Regions from separate parts of the Homo sapiens genome. Here region 2 is linked to region 1. The links are contacts of gene promoters, found by promoter capture Hi-C in human tissues and cell types (Jung and others, 2019). All regions are on one chromosome and are shown on one strand. The core of a region is centred on a gene start or on the middle of the fragment in contact, and the rest is flanking DNA. Distances in the headings are between cores, read along the strand shown. Region 1 holds the start of UCN3 (urocortin 3). Region 2 has its middle 35 kb from the start of LINC02561.

Region 1 (6,561 bases), core at 891-3,390:
AGAGGGAGTGAGATCCCTTTTACCTCTATATTTACTTTTTCACATTTTTGGGGTCAATTTGTAAATACTGTGCCTTTTAAAAAATGCATTACCTTCTTATTTTTCAAATCCCAAGTCTACCATCAGAGAAGAATACTGTAATCACGGCTAGGGTGCTGAAGGTGTGGAAAAATCTGTGAAAGTGTCAGGGAGCAAGTGTCCTGCGTGGCGCTCTGTTCTTGGTGCATCTGCAGGTAGCAGACCTTTCTCTCTCTGCAAACCCTCAGCTCTAGCCTGCACACGGTTGTGAGGGTATTGAAAGGTGTCCCCTTACCATCAGCAATGATGCAAAGTTACACAGCAAAGGAACCTCCCAGAACTGTGAATTGGACATGATAGGGACGCCCGGTGCTGAGCTTAGTTTTAGATCGTTTAAAATGTAAGGGTTCTTTGCAACCCTGGATGGTTTCACCATCAAAGTGTGTGAGTGGCTGGGGGCTGGAAGGTAGATTCAGATTTCTTTCCAGGACTTTTCTTTTTAGGATCTGTTTAGATTTGTTTAGGGTTTATAGGATAAAAGAAAAGGAACTCTCCCCAAAGAAGAAAAGATACTCTGTACTTCCCACATAAAGTCTAATTTTGCAAGTTTCTCCTTTTACATTCCTTGGACTCTTCTGCCATATTCTTGGTGAAACAGCACAAAAGTTTAAGATTTCTCTGCAGTCTGCCACGAAAATAACTGGGCACCATCTAGTTATTAATACATTTGAGGGGCAAAGCTCTACACCTGTATTTTTCTCTGGGTGCCTGAAACTCAACCATTCCTTTGGGCTATGGTGACAGTAGCACTTGTCGAGGATGCTGTAAAGAGACACAGTTACTTCTGGGAGCTGTGGCAGAGCCAAGCACTGAAACGTGAGGGACCTGGGTCAGCCTCCAATTCCCAGCACCTCACAGGGAGAGGACAGGACATGAAGCAGCAAAGGCAGGAGGCAAACAGTACTGATCACACATCTCTGCCAAGTGCAGAGCTATTCCTGTGGGCTCCGTTTGTCTGCAAACACTGATAAGAAGTTAAACTGAAACTAGACCACTTAAAACGTTTTAAAAATCTCACATTTGTTATTTTTGGTAGGTGGCTATGCTTGGGAAAGAAATTGCGAACAGGAATTTTCAGAAAACATAAACATCAAACATCCATCTCCCCTTCACAGGTAGGAGTTAGCCATTGTAGGTATCTGCACACACCCCCGCAATGTTCCTAGTGTGGCAAAGGGCTCTGGGCTTTGGTGGCAGAGGACCTGGCTGGGGAAACTCCCTTGCCTCTGACTTTTCTTGGGTGAATCCCTTAACCTGCATTTCACTTGCCGCGTCCTAGGAAGGAGACGTTACCTGCTTCACAGGTGTGCCCGAGAGTGACGGGAGATGGCACAGGTGAAGGTTTGTGGCACAGGTAAACAGTAAGTGCAGGTGTCCTCGCTGCTTTGCAGGCGGCGTGGAGTCATGTCCTGTGGCTCCCATTAGCCCCGGCATCCCTACCCCATCCCCATTTGTAAACTGTCTCCGAGGACTGACTTTCCTGTGCACAGCTGTGCTCTGTTCAGAGAAAACAGATTTGTGTGAACACCTTCTGCCTCTGATCTAACACCTTTGGAAAGAGGGTCTCTCTATACCAACGTGGGAATGTGATTGTGCCTCCCTGAGAAACTTCCCCTGGTCCCTTTGGGGCTGATTTCTGCTGATTGGGTGGGGGGCGTTCAGCATCGCTCCCTTGGGCTTCCACCCAGGGGCGCTAGCAGCTCTCATCTCTCACACCTGTCTAGTGCATGGCACCTCCTGCTTAAATTAGGGCAGATACATTTACCCTTCATAAGTCAGTCCCAGCCACAAGCTTACCCGAGAGTGGACTTCCCTCCGCAGCGAAACGCTCAGGGAGGCCGGCGCAGCTTCAGGGCCAGGAGGGCGGCCCCGTGCACGTCCCCATGAACTTGTGGCTGCTCCGGGGTCTCGGCTCCTGCTTCTCCGGTATTGTTCCTAAGTGGGCTGTGATATTCCCTCTCTATGGAAACGGTCCCCTCCCCTGTGTGTATATAAAAGTGACAGATCACAGGGTGGATCGTAATTCCAGACGTGGTGTCTACGCTGGGATGAGATTTCATTTAAAATACAACCAGAACCAGCCGTCCACGTCATGCAGACGACAGGTGCTCCAACCTCGACCCCTCCCACCTCTGCTTCCCACCCCGCCCTTCTACCCCCCAACTCCTTTTGCATCCTAGCAACTTGCTTCATTGATAAAAGCAAAGAACAAAAAAGAAAAAGAAGAAATAAAAACTCAAAACAAAACAAAACAAAAATCCTGGTAAAGTGAGAAGCAGTGTCTTTGAAGAATTTTATTGCTGATCTTAGTTCTAACTAATTTCAGTTTCCCCCACATTCCCCTTGCCCTAACTCTCCTTCTGTAAATGTAGAGCCTGGACCTGCTTTGAAAGCAGAGAAGGGGTTTAAAATCCACCTGTTGCCGTGTTGTTTTGTGGGTTCTGACCGTGCAGCGTCATCTGGCCGCACACGTAGCCCCTTGTGCTTGTCACACACTCGGTGCCTACTCCCCACATAAAGTCTAATTATGCAAGTTTCTCCTTTCACATTCCTTGGGCTCTTCTGCCGTACCCTCAGTGAAACAACACGAAAGTTTAAGATTTCTCTGCAGCCTGCCGCGAAAATGACTGAGCACCATCTATTTGTTAATACGTTTGAGGGGAAAGCTCTACACCTGCATTTTTCTCTGGATACCTGAAACTCAACCATTCCTTTGGGCTATGACAGCAGGTCATCATACACCAGAGGTCTGGAGGTTTTAGTGGGAAATGGCTTGGATTTTACTCGTTTATGCATCCTATATTTATTGAGGACTTACTGTGTACCAGGTATTGCCAAGACACCCACGAGTTCAGAGATAAGTAAGTTGTGGCCCCTAACCATACAGGGCCTCATGGTTTAGAAAGGTAGGGAAGGCTGGGTGCGGTGGCTTATGCCAGTAATCCCAGCACTGTGGGAGGCCGAGGCGGGCAGATCACGAGGTCAGGAGTTCAAGACTAGCCTGGCCAACATGGTGAAACCCCGGCTCTACTAAGAATACAAAAAAAATTAGCCGGGCATGGTGGCGAGTGCCTGTAATTCCAACTACTCAGGAGGCCAAGGCAAGAGAATCACTTGAACCTGGGAGGTGGGGGTTGCAGTGAGCTGAGATGGCGCCATTGCACTCCAGCCTGGGCAACAGAGTGAGACTCCATCTCAAAAGAAAGAAAGAAAGAAAGGTAGGTAAAAAATGCTACAGAAGAGAGCAGTCCTGTCTACTCAAGACAGGAGAGGAGAGCAGGAGGGGTTTCAGACAGAAAGGATGGATCAGCATGGACTGAGCCAGGGCTGAGAGGAACGGGAGAGAAGGAGGACGATGGGAGGGAGGTGTTGGTGGGTGCAGAGGCTGCTCTGCACTAAGGTGCTCCAAAGGCCTGCGGAGTTGGGAGTTTATTCCATATGTAATGGGGAGATGTGGGAGACTACGGTCTGTTGACCCCTTATTCACAGATGAGGAAGCTGAGGCTGTAAAAAGTGACCTGCTGGGACCCCACAGGCCCAGGGTGACAGAGTCAGGTGAGAACCAGGCCTGACGCTGGGCTCAGTGCTCCTTTCACTGGGCTGAGCTGATGACAAGGGGCCCTGCAAGACCGGCTGGCTGTCCCTAGCCCTCCTCCCAGACGGCTGCTCCACTCTCGTGAATTCCTGCAGGTGAAGAGGTAAGAGGTCTTCTGAAATTACCAAAACTCTTTAAAGCCCATGAGCATTTGGAGGAACAAATGGAAAGCTGTTGTGGGGAAGGACTTCAAGACTCTGTACTCCCCATTTTAAGTCTCTTTATGGAGATAGGAAATTGGACCTCCCTCTCTTCCTTCTTTCAGAGCTGCCTGGGCTAGGATCCTCTTGAGATTGGAGGCAACATGAAACTGAATCTGTGTTTCAATTCAAATTCATTACTTCATTCATTCATTCATTAGTTCATTCATTCATTCATTCATTAGTTCATTCCTTCATTAGTTCCTTCATTCATTCATTTGTTCTAGTTTTTGTGAGGTTTTTGTTCTGCTTTCCATTTCAGATAATGATGCAGTAATGGAATTTATGCAGGTTGAGGGGTAGATTTCCACCTGAGTTTAACTCTCCTGTCTGCCTTATGGGCTCTGAGATGCCAGGGATCTGGCAACGTTGGTCTCCCAGGGCAGGGTTTCCCATCCTCAGCACTGTTGACATTTTGGGTGAGGTAATTCCTTGTTGGCCTTGGGGTCTGCCCTGAGCTCTGGAGGAATTTAGCAGCATCCTGGGCATCTACCCATTAGATGCCAGTAGCACTCCCCTCTTTGTCTGTGACCATCAAAAATGTTTCCAGACATGTCCTCTGGGGGCATGAGGACCACTTCCCTACAGTATGGGGTTTAGAAAGAGAGACGATGAACCCTGGCTTCTTTTCTTACCTTGTTTCCTCTGAACTTCCTAGAAATCCTCCTACCCTGAGGCCACCTCGCTGGGACTGAAGGGTCTTGGTGTTGGTGGCTGTTCTTGGAGCCTGCCGTCCCTTCGTCACACAGAGCAGGCTCATCGGCTCCCACTGGTCCATCCTGGGTGGGCTTTGGCATTGTCCAGTGACTTCTGCTAGCCTGGATGGAGTTCCACACAGAATGTTTCATGGACATGAGCAGCTGTAAGGGTGCAGTCCAGGGTGTAGTTTTCTAGAAATGTCAAGAAATAGTACATTTGCTTTACAACTTGAATGACGCATCTGGTGGGGGACTGAACAGAGGCTTGGGCAGCAAGAAGATGATGAGTAGCAAAACCTCTGGAGTGTCATTTCTAGCAAACAACGATTTCCCTCCCTCCCCATGGCTGATGTGTGAATGTGGCGTGTTTCTACACTTGCACTTCTCTCTGGCCTTTGTGAGTCATTGGTATCTTCCGTGGACTCAGCATGAGCATGTTGTTCAGGGATGTAAATGTCCTGTAGAGGGTACAAAGAGGGCCAGGGTGAGAAGAAAAAGCTGATCAGCTTCTCAGGTGAATAGAAATGGCTCATATTTATAAAGCTCATTTCTCCAAAGTGCTCAAAGCACTTACACTTAATAACATAATTATTTCCTCAACATCTGAGCATGGCGGTAAAATAAAGATAGACGAGAGAATTAGCAAAGTGTGAGAGAGCTTGACTTATAGGAGAGAAGTTTTACTGAGGAGCCGGGAAGGTCCGTTTTCATTTCTGCCTGGGTTGCTAGCATGGCTGTTTGATTCTCACAGACACCCACATTCCCTAGTCCTCTGTCTCCTGTATTTTAAAATGTAGATTGCTGTGCCTTCCCTGTTTGTTTTTAGCAAGGTTGATGTCAAGATAGTATTGCAATAACTTGATAAAGTTGTATGTGAACACAGAATATTAGCATCATCTTTCTTCTTCAGTTCTCCCTTATTTTCTCTGACTGATTTTTTGTTCGTGATTTCTCACTTTTAGCAGGGTGTGTGTTTACCTCCTGTTGTGTTTGTGGATTGTCAATTTTTGTCTTGTAAGTCTGTCTATTTCTGTTTTATATATTTGGAGTGTTTGGCATATATAAATTCTTCATGTTATCATCTTGCTGTTAACCTCTTCATCCTAAATAATACTTCTCATAAAGTTTGCTTTGCCTGATATCAAAATAGCTATCCCAGCTTTCCGTTGGATAACTTTTGCTTGCTGTATTTTTCCAGTCTTTTCTGTTTCAGAATTACTTTGTAAATGGTATATATTTAAATTTTAAAAATTAAATCTAACAATCTTTGTGTTTTAACCAAGGACTTTAATAAACTAATGTAAAGATACTTGACTCCTGATGTATTGAATTATTTTCTACCATCCATCTTACATTGTGATTTCTATTTGCACAGTTTTATCCCCCTTTTCTTCCATTTATTATTGTTTTTTCTTTTCTGCCATCTGCTGTATTGATGAAGTCTTCATTTTCATTTTCCCTGTATTTTACAATCTAACCATCTAAAGCTATTTAATATATAACTTTTCTTCTAAGCATTGGTTTAGCCACATGCCACAAGTTTTAATGGGTTGTATTTTCATTGTCATTCAGTTCAAATATTTTTAAATGTTTTTCTGTGATGAAGGGTAGCCAACTATGTGACTCCAAAATATACCATATGGCATAAGGATTATTTTGAGCTGACGACAGTTTAGGAAAAGCAGATACTATTGATAGAAAAGCTCTTACCCTTCCCATATTTGCCAAGGCAGGACATGCATTTGTAAAGGTGTCTGCCCTTCTCTCTACCAGGAAGAACAGACCTAATCCCCTGAGACAACCTAGAGTTTTATTAGCCGGGAGGAGCCAGAGAAATCTACCTAACAAACCTTACTCACTAGCCCTTATCTTTCATTAGTTTCCTCGTATATTTACCTTCCTGCAATTTGCCTCCCCTAAAAACTCAAAGTATTTTATCTTGTCTTGTCACTTCTCTAAACATTTATTGCTCTGTTGCTAAGATGCTCTA
Region 2 (6,621 bases), core at 67-2,566, 56 kb after region 1:
GTAAGATACAAGAACTCAAGACAATGTAAATCCAAGGGTGGAGTGGAGGTAAGGGCCGATGGAACAACTCACAGCACCAGCCAGCTGGAGATGGAGATATGAGAGGCAGCAGGCAGGATGACTGATGGTGGAGCCCATGGGCTTTGGTGTGAGACTTGGCTTCAAACACCTGGACATCATTTTCTAGCTCTTTTGAGAGTTAGGTCTTAGGAAAATCTTTTTATATCAGATTCTGAATTAATTGAATGTAATCAATAGCTATTTAGAAAGGAAGATGAAAAATATGCAGTCTTCATTGTGAAATAGATAAACCCCATGCTTAGGAAAAGCTTTTAATTTGAAATTTTACATAGAGTTTTTGTTTAGTGTTTTTTTTTTTTTTAAACTAGTAAATGGCACACATCATCATTTTCCTCAGCTGAGTAATATACGACCCTGGTGAATAGTAGAGAAGTAATTATTTCATTTACTTTATCTCTATCATTTTTTCCAAGGGAGAGTGGGTCTGTGAAATTTTCAGAAGCTCAATATGTCTGACTTGCAAATTAGCAGAGCTGAAAGGTGGAGAGGCTACCTTACTCTATCATCTTGGAGAGACACTTGATTGCAGAAGAAAATAAAGGCATTTAAACGGCACTTACAGAATGTTTTCTACCCTGGACTTTGTTTCCTCATTCATTCATCCCACAAATGTTTGTCAAACACTTCCTATGCCAACCATTGTTTTGAGGGTTTAATGAAAATTAAAGCTAGAAGAAAACACATGAGTCTTTTTTGTTGATCAAAACTATTCAATAGCTTTATTCTTCCATTCCATCAATATTATATTCATCTGATTACTCTTAAATTCCAATATTCCAATACACAAAGTCTCCTTTCTCTCCAGCCAACTGGTCAACTCTTTGCACCTAACTCACCACCCCATCTTGTTCGTGTTGTCATCATTCTGCCTGCCAGGAACGTTCACTCCTCTTCAGTGTATAATTTTTTTTTTCCCGTCAGATTCTAATTCAAGTCCCACTACTTTCATGAAGCCCTCCTCACCTGCTTTAGCCTGTGAGACTCCTGGAATCCTTCTAACAGCTCTCATCCCTGAATGCCCGGATGACCTTTTCTGATTATAAAAATATTGCAGGATGAGTAAGGAAAATTTGAAAGAGAAGGAAATATATCACCTCAATTCTTCTTTGCAGAGAACATTATACTTGGCATCTTGTGAATTTTTTATATGGACTTAAAAAAGCAGAACTGATGTAATAATGCATATAAAATTTTATATCTTATTTCTCCTGCTTAATGTTATATAATTACTATTTCTCCAAGTTATTAAAAACTTTCAGTTATTATTTGTAACATTTGCCTGATTTTCCACTTGAAATGTGTACCATAATTTACTCAATAATTCCTCTGTCATGAAAAATTTAGTTTGAGTTTAGTTTTTTCCTATCATAAATAACCCTGAGATAAACATAAGGCTTACTCCATATTATAAATTATTTACTTAATTAAAAATCTTAGAATTGGAATTACTATATCAAATGATGTAAACATGTTGATATATATTGCAACATTGTTGTACAAAAGGTTAATATTAATTTTCATTCTTGAGTAGACAGTTATTTCACCATATCCTCATTAGCACTAAGTATTCTTTAATAAAAACAAAACAAAAAACTTTGCTAACTTGTGTCACCTGTTTGTCATTTGGCACATGCAGCAATGATCTTCTTCCCGAAATACATTAGTCACCACACTCCCAAATCAGAGTCAGGTTATAATTTAGATTGTACTATTGATTTGAATACCCACTTAGACCTCTCGAACCTCCCACCTCACTTGTTGAAAAATTACTGTGCCCTCTGCAAAGTAAGCTGCGGTGACAATGAGGATTTCACAGCTCCTTCTCCTCTAGGATGGTCATCTTCTTTTGGGATGCAGCCTCAGGGGTCCCTGTGTTCCTTCTCCCTTTCTTCATACTGGCCCCTTCTTCGTTGGGCAACTTGTAATGTTCCGGGAGCTTTGGTGGCTTTAACCAACAGCTTCTTGCTGTTTCCTCAGTTGGCAGTGTGGAGTTATAGTTTTTTCCCCCAGCATTTGTCAGTGTTGAGCATATTTTTCTCATAACTGCTCCCCCCTTCTGCGATGTGAGATCCTATCAATATCGTTCTAATGGATCTGCCTTTCCTTCATTTCCTGTGTGGACTCTGCCCACGCCAACATGTGGGTTCTCCAGTTGTCTTCCTGGCCTCTCATTCTACAGTCTTCCTGGGCAACTCCACCTGCCTCCAAGGCAGACTTATCTCGGTGTAACAATGAGGATTTTAAAATTATATATTACATTACATAATTATTATATTGCATACTTTTATTACATATTTTTATTTAATTTATTCAGTTATTTAACTTATTTAATTTTATTACATAATTCATTACATAATGACTACGACAATTTTCAAAATTACATTAAATGTATCTTGGTGCAAAATCTGTAACTGAAATCTGCCCCCTGCTCCTGAGCTTCAGCCTAATATTCCAACACCTACTAAGTATTTCCATTTGGCTGTCTTCTAAGGTTGTAAGGAAAAGTTCTCTGGGAAGGAAATTGGAGGAAAGAGACTTTATTCCAGCAAACAGCTGACAAACGAGGGAGATGCAGCCTCCGGTGTAAACAAAGATGTGTTCCAGGGAACAAAGGGAGGGTTTGGTGTTTTCTTAAATTTTATTTTATTTTTATTTTTTATTTGAGGGATGGAGTCTTGCTGTCACCCAAGCTAGAGTGCAGTGGCACAATCTCATCTCACTACAACCTCCACCTCCTGGGTTGAAGTGATTCTCCTGCCTCAGCTTCCCAAGCAGCTGGGGCTAGGTTTTATAGCAAAAGTTTCTGCCCAATCAGGTTCAAGTATGCAAATGAAAACTTCAAACTGATTGGTCAACACAGCTGAACACTGATTGGTTGATACAGCTGAACCCTGATTGGTTGGTTCCGATGAGCTCTCCTTTGTTGGTTTAGGTGAACTCTAATTGATTGATTCAGGTAAGCTCTGATTGGTTTGTTCAAGTGAGCTCTGAAAGTTCCAAAGTTAAATAGAGGTGTGGGTTTTGGGGAACTGACGGTGCTTGTGTGACCTCCAGTCAACAAATGGCTACTTGGCTGTATTTAAAATTTGCGCCTGGTTAGCTGCTTGGGATCCATCTTGAAGGATTGGCTCTGTCAGGTTCACATTTGTGTAAACGACCTTCGAGCTCAGCATGTCCACAGTTACAGTGATTGTTCCTCTGGACCCACAACCCTTTCTCCTTCTCCTGTGTCCTCTAGACAGCCTGATAATACCATCTTCCCATTAGCTCTCTGATATGGTTTGGCTGTGTCCCCACCCAAATCTCATCTTGAATTCCCACGTCTTGTGGGAGGGACCTGGTGGGAGGTAATTGAATCATGGGGGTGGGTCTTTCCTGTGCTGTTCTCCTGATAGTGAATAAGTCTCATGAGATCTTATGGTATTATAAGCGGGAGTTTCCCTGCAGAAGCTCTTTCTCTTTGCCACCATCCACAGATGTGACTTGCTCGTCCTTGCCTTCAGCCATGATTGTGAGGCCTCCCCAGCCTGGTGAAACTGTAAGTCCAATTAAACCTCTTTCTTTTGTCAGTTGCCCAGTCTCTGGTATGTTTGTTTTATCAGCAGCGTGAAAACGGACTAATACACTCTGTGAACTAGAAGAGTAGAGGTCCTGCAGTCCTCATCGTCGGTACCCTGGACTACCAAAATAAAACTTTGCTGGTCTTCCTGTCTCCAGACCCGCCCTATACCCTTGAGCCGGAGTGACCTTCTTCAATTTGCTTAGAGGCCTTCTATAGCTGGTCATCGTCAGGATTAAGTTAGAAATCCTGAGTTCAGTACACAAAAGCGAGCAGCACCTGGTCTCTGCTACCTCTCCATCTTTTCTGGTATAATATGCAAATTGTTTCTCACAAGGACCCCGGCTGCATGAATTCCGGTTGCTTCTTAATTGAGCTGTCAGAATCCTTGTTTTCTGTAACAGATTCCTAGGGGCAGTGCCATGCTTTGCAGTTTGTGAATTTCAGAAAGCCTAACAGGTGAGGCACCACCCCTAGAGCCCTGTGGTCACACCTCACATGCCCTGTCTGGGGGAAGACAGCAATTCTGTGTTCTAACTCTCTCTGACGGTCATTCGCTGTGTGATCTTGGGAGAAAGACCTGAGTTTTTGGGCTTCAGTTTGCTCGTCTGTGGAATGAGCTAGTCAAAGGGAACTTGGAAATGGTTGCTAAAGTCTCCTTAGGTGACCTCATTTGTGTCTGTTTTTGGTTAAAACCCTGAGCTGATGTAATATCAGAGCCAGGCGTTAGACGGCAGCATTAACTAAAATTTGCTGGGAAGTCCACATATGCTGGACCTTATCTTGGAAGTTGGTTTTGCTTTGTTGCAGCAAATATTGATGATAAAATACAAAGTGAGCATACGGAGATATATACATTATGCGATCTTATGAGGATCAGGTTAAGCATTTGGTTCTTTTCCTAAAAGTAATGGGAATACTTCAGATTATGATGAAGATTCACAAAATAAGAGATACTGAAGATTCACATGAAGGTTCACAAAATAAGAGACACTCTAAGACAAATCTAATCACTTCTGTTAACTTTTCCAATTATTATAGGAGAATTTTTTTTAAATACTGAGGCAGAATATTAATAGAATCAGTCAGTGACTCTATATTTGAAAATAACAGAAACTGATGAGTCTTAGGCAATTTGCATGAACATAGTGCAAAAATAGAATAGTTTCTCCTGAAATTGATCAAATAATTGCGAGTCTTTGAAAAATTAGTGAGTTAATATTAATCTTCATAAATTGGTATATTTTTGCAATCTGAATATTTCTGTTCATGCGAGTGTGAGATGCTAATATTTAATGCTGCACAGTTCTCTTCTACAATATGCCAGGTTATATAGTTTAAATGTTTGAGTTGAAAAAAGACATTAATAACCAGTGGGGCCCTTTGTGGCCATCACTGAAGTGGGAGTGGCCAAAATGAAGTTCAATCCCTTTGTGACTTCTGACCGAAGTAGTAACTGCAAAAGGCATTTCAATGCGCCTTCCCACATTCACAGGACAGTTATGTCTTCCCCTCTTTCCAAAGAGCTGAGACAGAAGTACAACGTTTGATCCATGCCCGTCTGAAAGGATGATGATATTCAGGTTGTGTGAGGGCACCATAAAGGTCAGCAAATTGGCAAAGTAGTCCAGATTTACAGAGAGAAATATGTCATCTACATTGAATGGGTGCAGCGGGAAAAGGCTGATGACACAACTGTCCGTGTAGACTTTCGCCCCAGCAAGGGGATTATCAGTAGACTAAAACTGGGCAAAGAGCACAAAAAGATCCTTGCATGGAAAGCCAAATCTCACCAAGTAGGAAAGGAAAAGGGCAAATACAAGGAGGAAACAATTGAGAACATGCAGGAATAAAGTAATCTTGTATACAAGCTTTCATTAAAACTTGAAAAAAAAAAACTGGTGGGGATAATGTAACACAGATATAGTACAGGGAGAGGTTAAAAGTGTCTGTATGCCTATGTGTGTGTGCCTGTACGTGTTCATGTGTGTATGCATGGGTGCATAAGTGTGTTTTTGTGGTATGTGTGCTCGCCTGTGTGTGCATGTATGTGGGCTTGTACTGGTTCTCCTTTACTTTTTTGTTTTAATCAGAGGAAAGTGAATAATAGGTGAAAAGAGAGAGGGTCTATTTTGATCTAAAAGTAGTGTGGTGGGGGGGTTAGAATTGCCCCTGGGGAAGGTAATGTTCTTGATTGCAAATCCTACGGCAGGTAAATAAGCCCTTCCATAATCAGAAAAAGCAGCTCGCTGTTCTCTAAGGAAGGGAAGGGTCTCCCAGTCAGCACGTGCTCTTGAATTGTGCAAATGTGAAGGAAAAGATTTAAAAAAAAATTACAGTGATCGTGGCTGTCTTAGTCTGTTTAGGCTTCTGTAACAAAAATGCCATGCAGAGGGTGACTTATAAACAGCAGAAATTTATTTCTCAACATTCTGGAGGCTGGGAAGTCCAAGATCAAGGCTCAGGCAGGTTTGGTGTCAGGTGAGGGTCTGTTTCCTGGTTCTCGCTGTGTTGTCACATGGCAGAAGGGGCAAACAAGCTCCCGCAGGCCTCTTTTCTAAGGGCACTAATCCCATTCATGAGGGCCCCATCCTCATGACCTCATCAACTCCAAAACTCCACTTCTTAGTACTATCACCTTGAGGGTAGGATTCAACATATGAATTTTGGAGGGATACAGACATTCAAGACATAGCAATGGCCAAATGCACATTGCTAGGGAAGCTAAATGAGCTCATGCTTTCATACTTGAAGACAAAAATGGCTTTAACATATTTCATAAAAACCAGTGCAGTTGAGAGAAAATGGAGATTTAAAATTTCATGTAAAGTAAATGGTGATAAATAAAAGTCGAATCTCCCATCTGTTTTCCTTTCATCTTCTCCATCAAAGATAATACTTTGGTTTTAAAAAGGGCAGGGGAAATGAAATTGGAAGATAAACTAGATAACATGATTTTAAAGCAGACTTCAAGTTCAAAA

The links. The method cuts DNA at HindIII sites, captures the fragments that hold promoters and counts their contacts. A contact is called where the count stands out against the background at its distance.
Region 2: a contact is called between a fragment that was not itself captured here and the fragment with the promoter of UCN3 in region 1, in 1 of the 25 tissues and cell types used here (IMR-90 fibroblasts).

What each region holds. Positions count from the first base shown.
Region 1 is chr10:5,360,545-5,367,105 of GRCh38, reverse strand. UCN3 (urocortin 3) reads right to left here and starts at 2,140. Exons shown (of 2, transcript NM_053049.4): 1 at 1,876-2,140. The HindIII fragment of the contact is 10,177 bases long and covers 141-6,561 here.
Region 2 is chr10:5,303,300-5,309,920 of GRCh38, reverse strand. It overlaps the pseudogene RPL26P28. Among named protein-coding and RNA genes, the nearest start is that of LINC02561, 35 kb to the right of the region's middle. The HindIII fragment of the contact is 3,209 bases long and covers 1-2,920 here.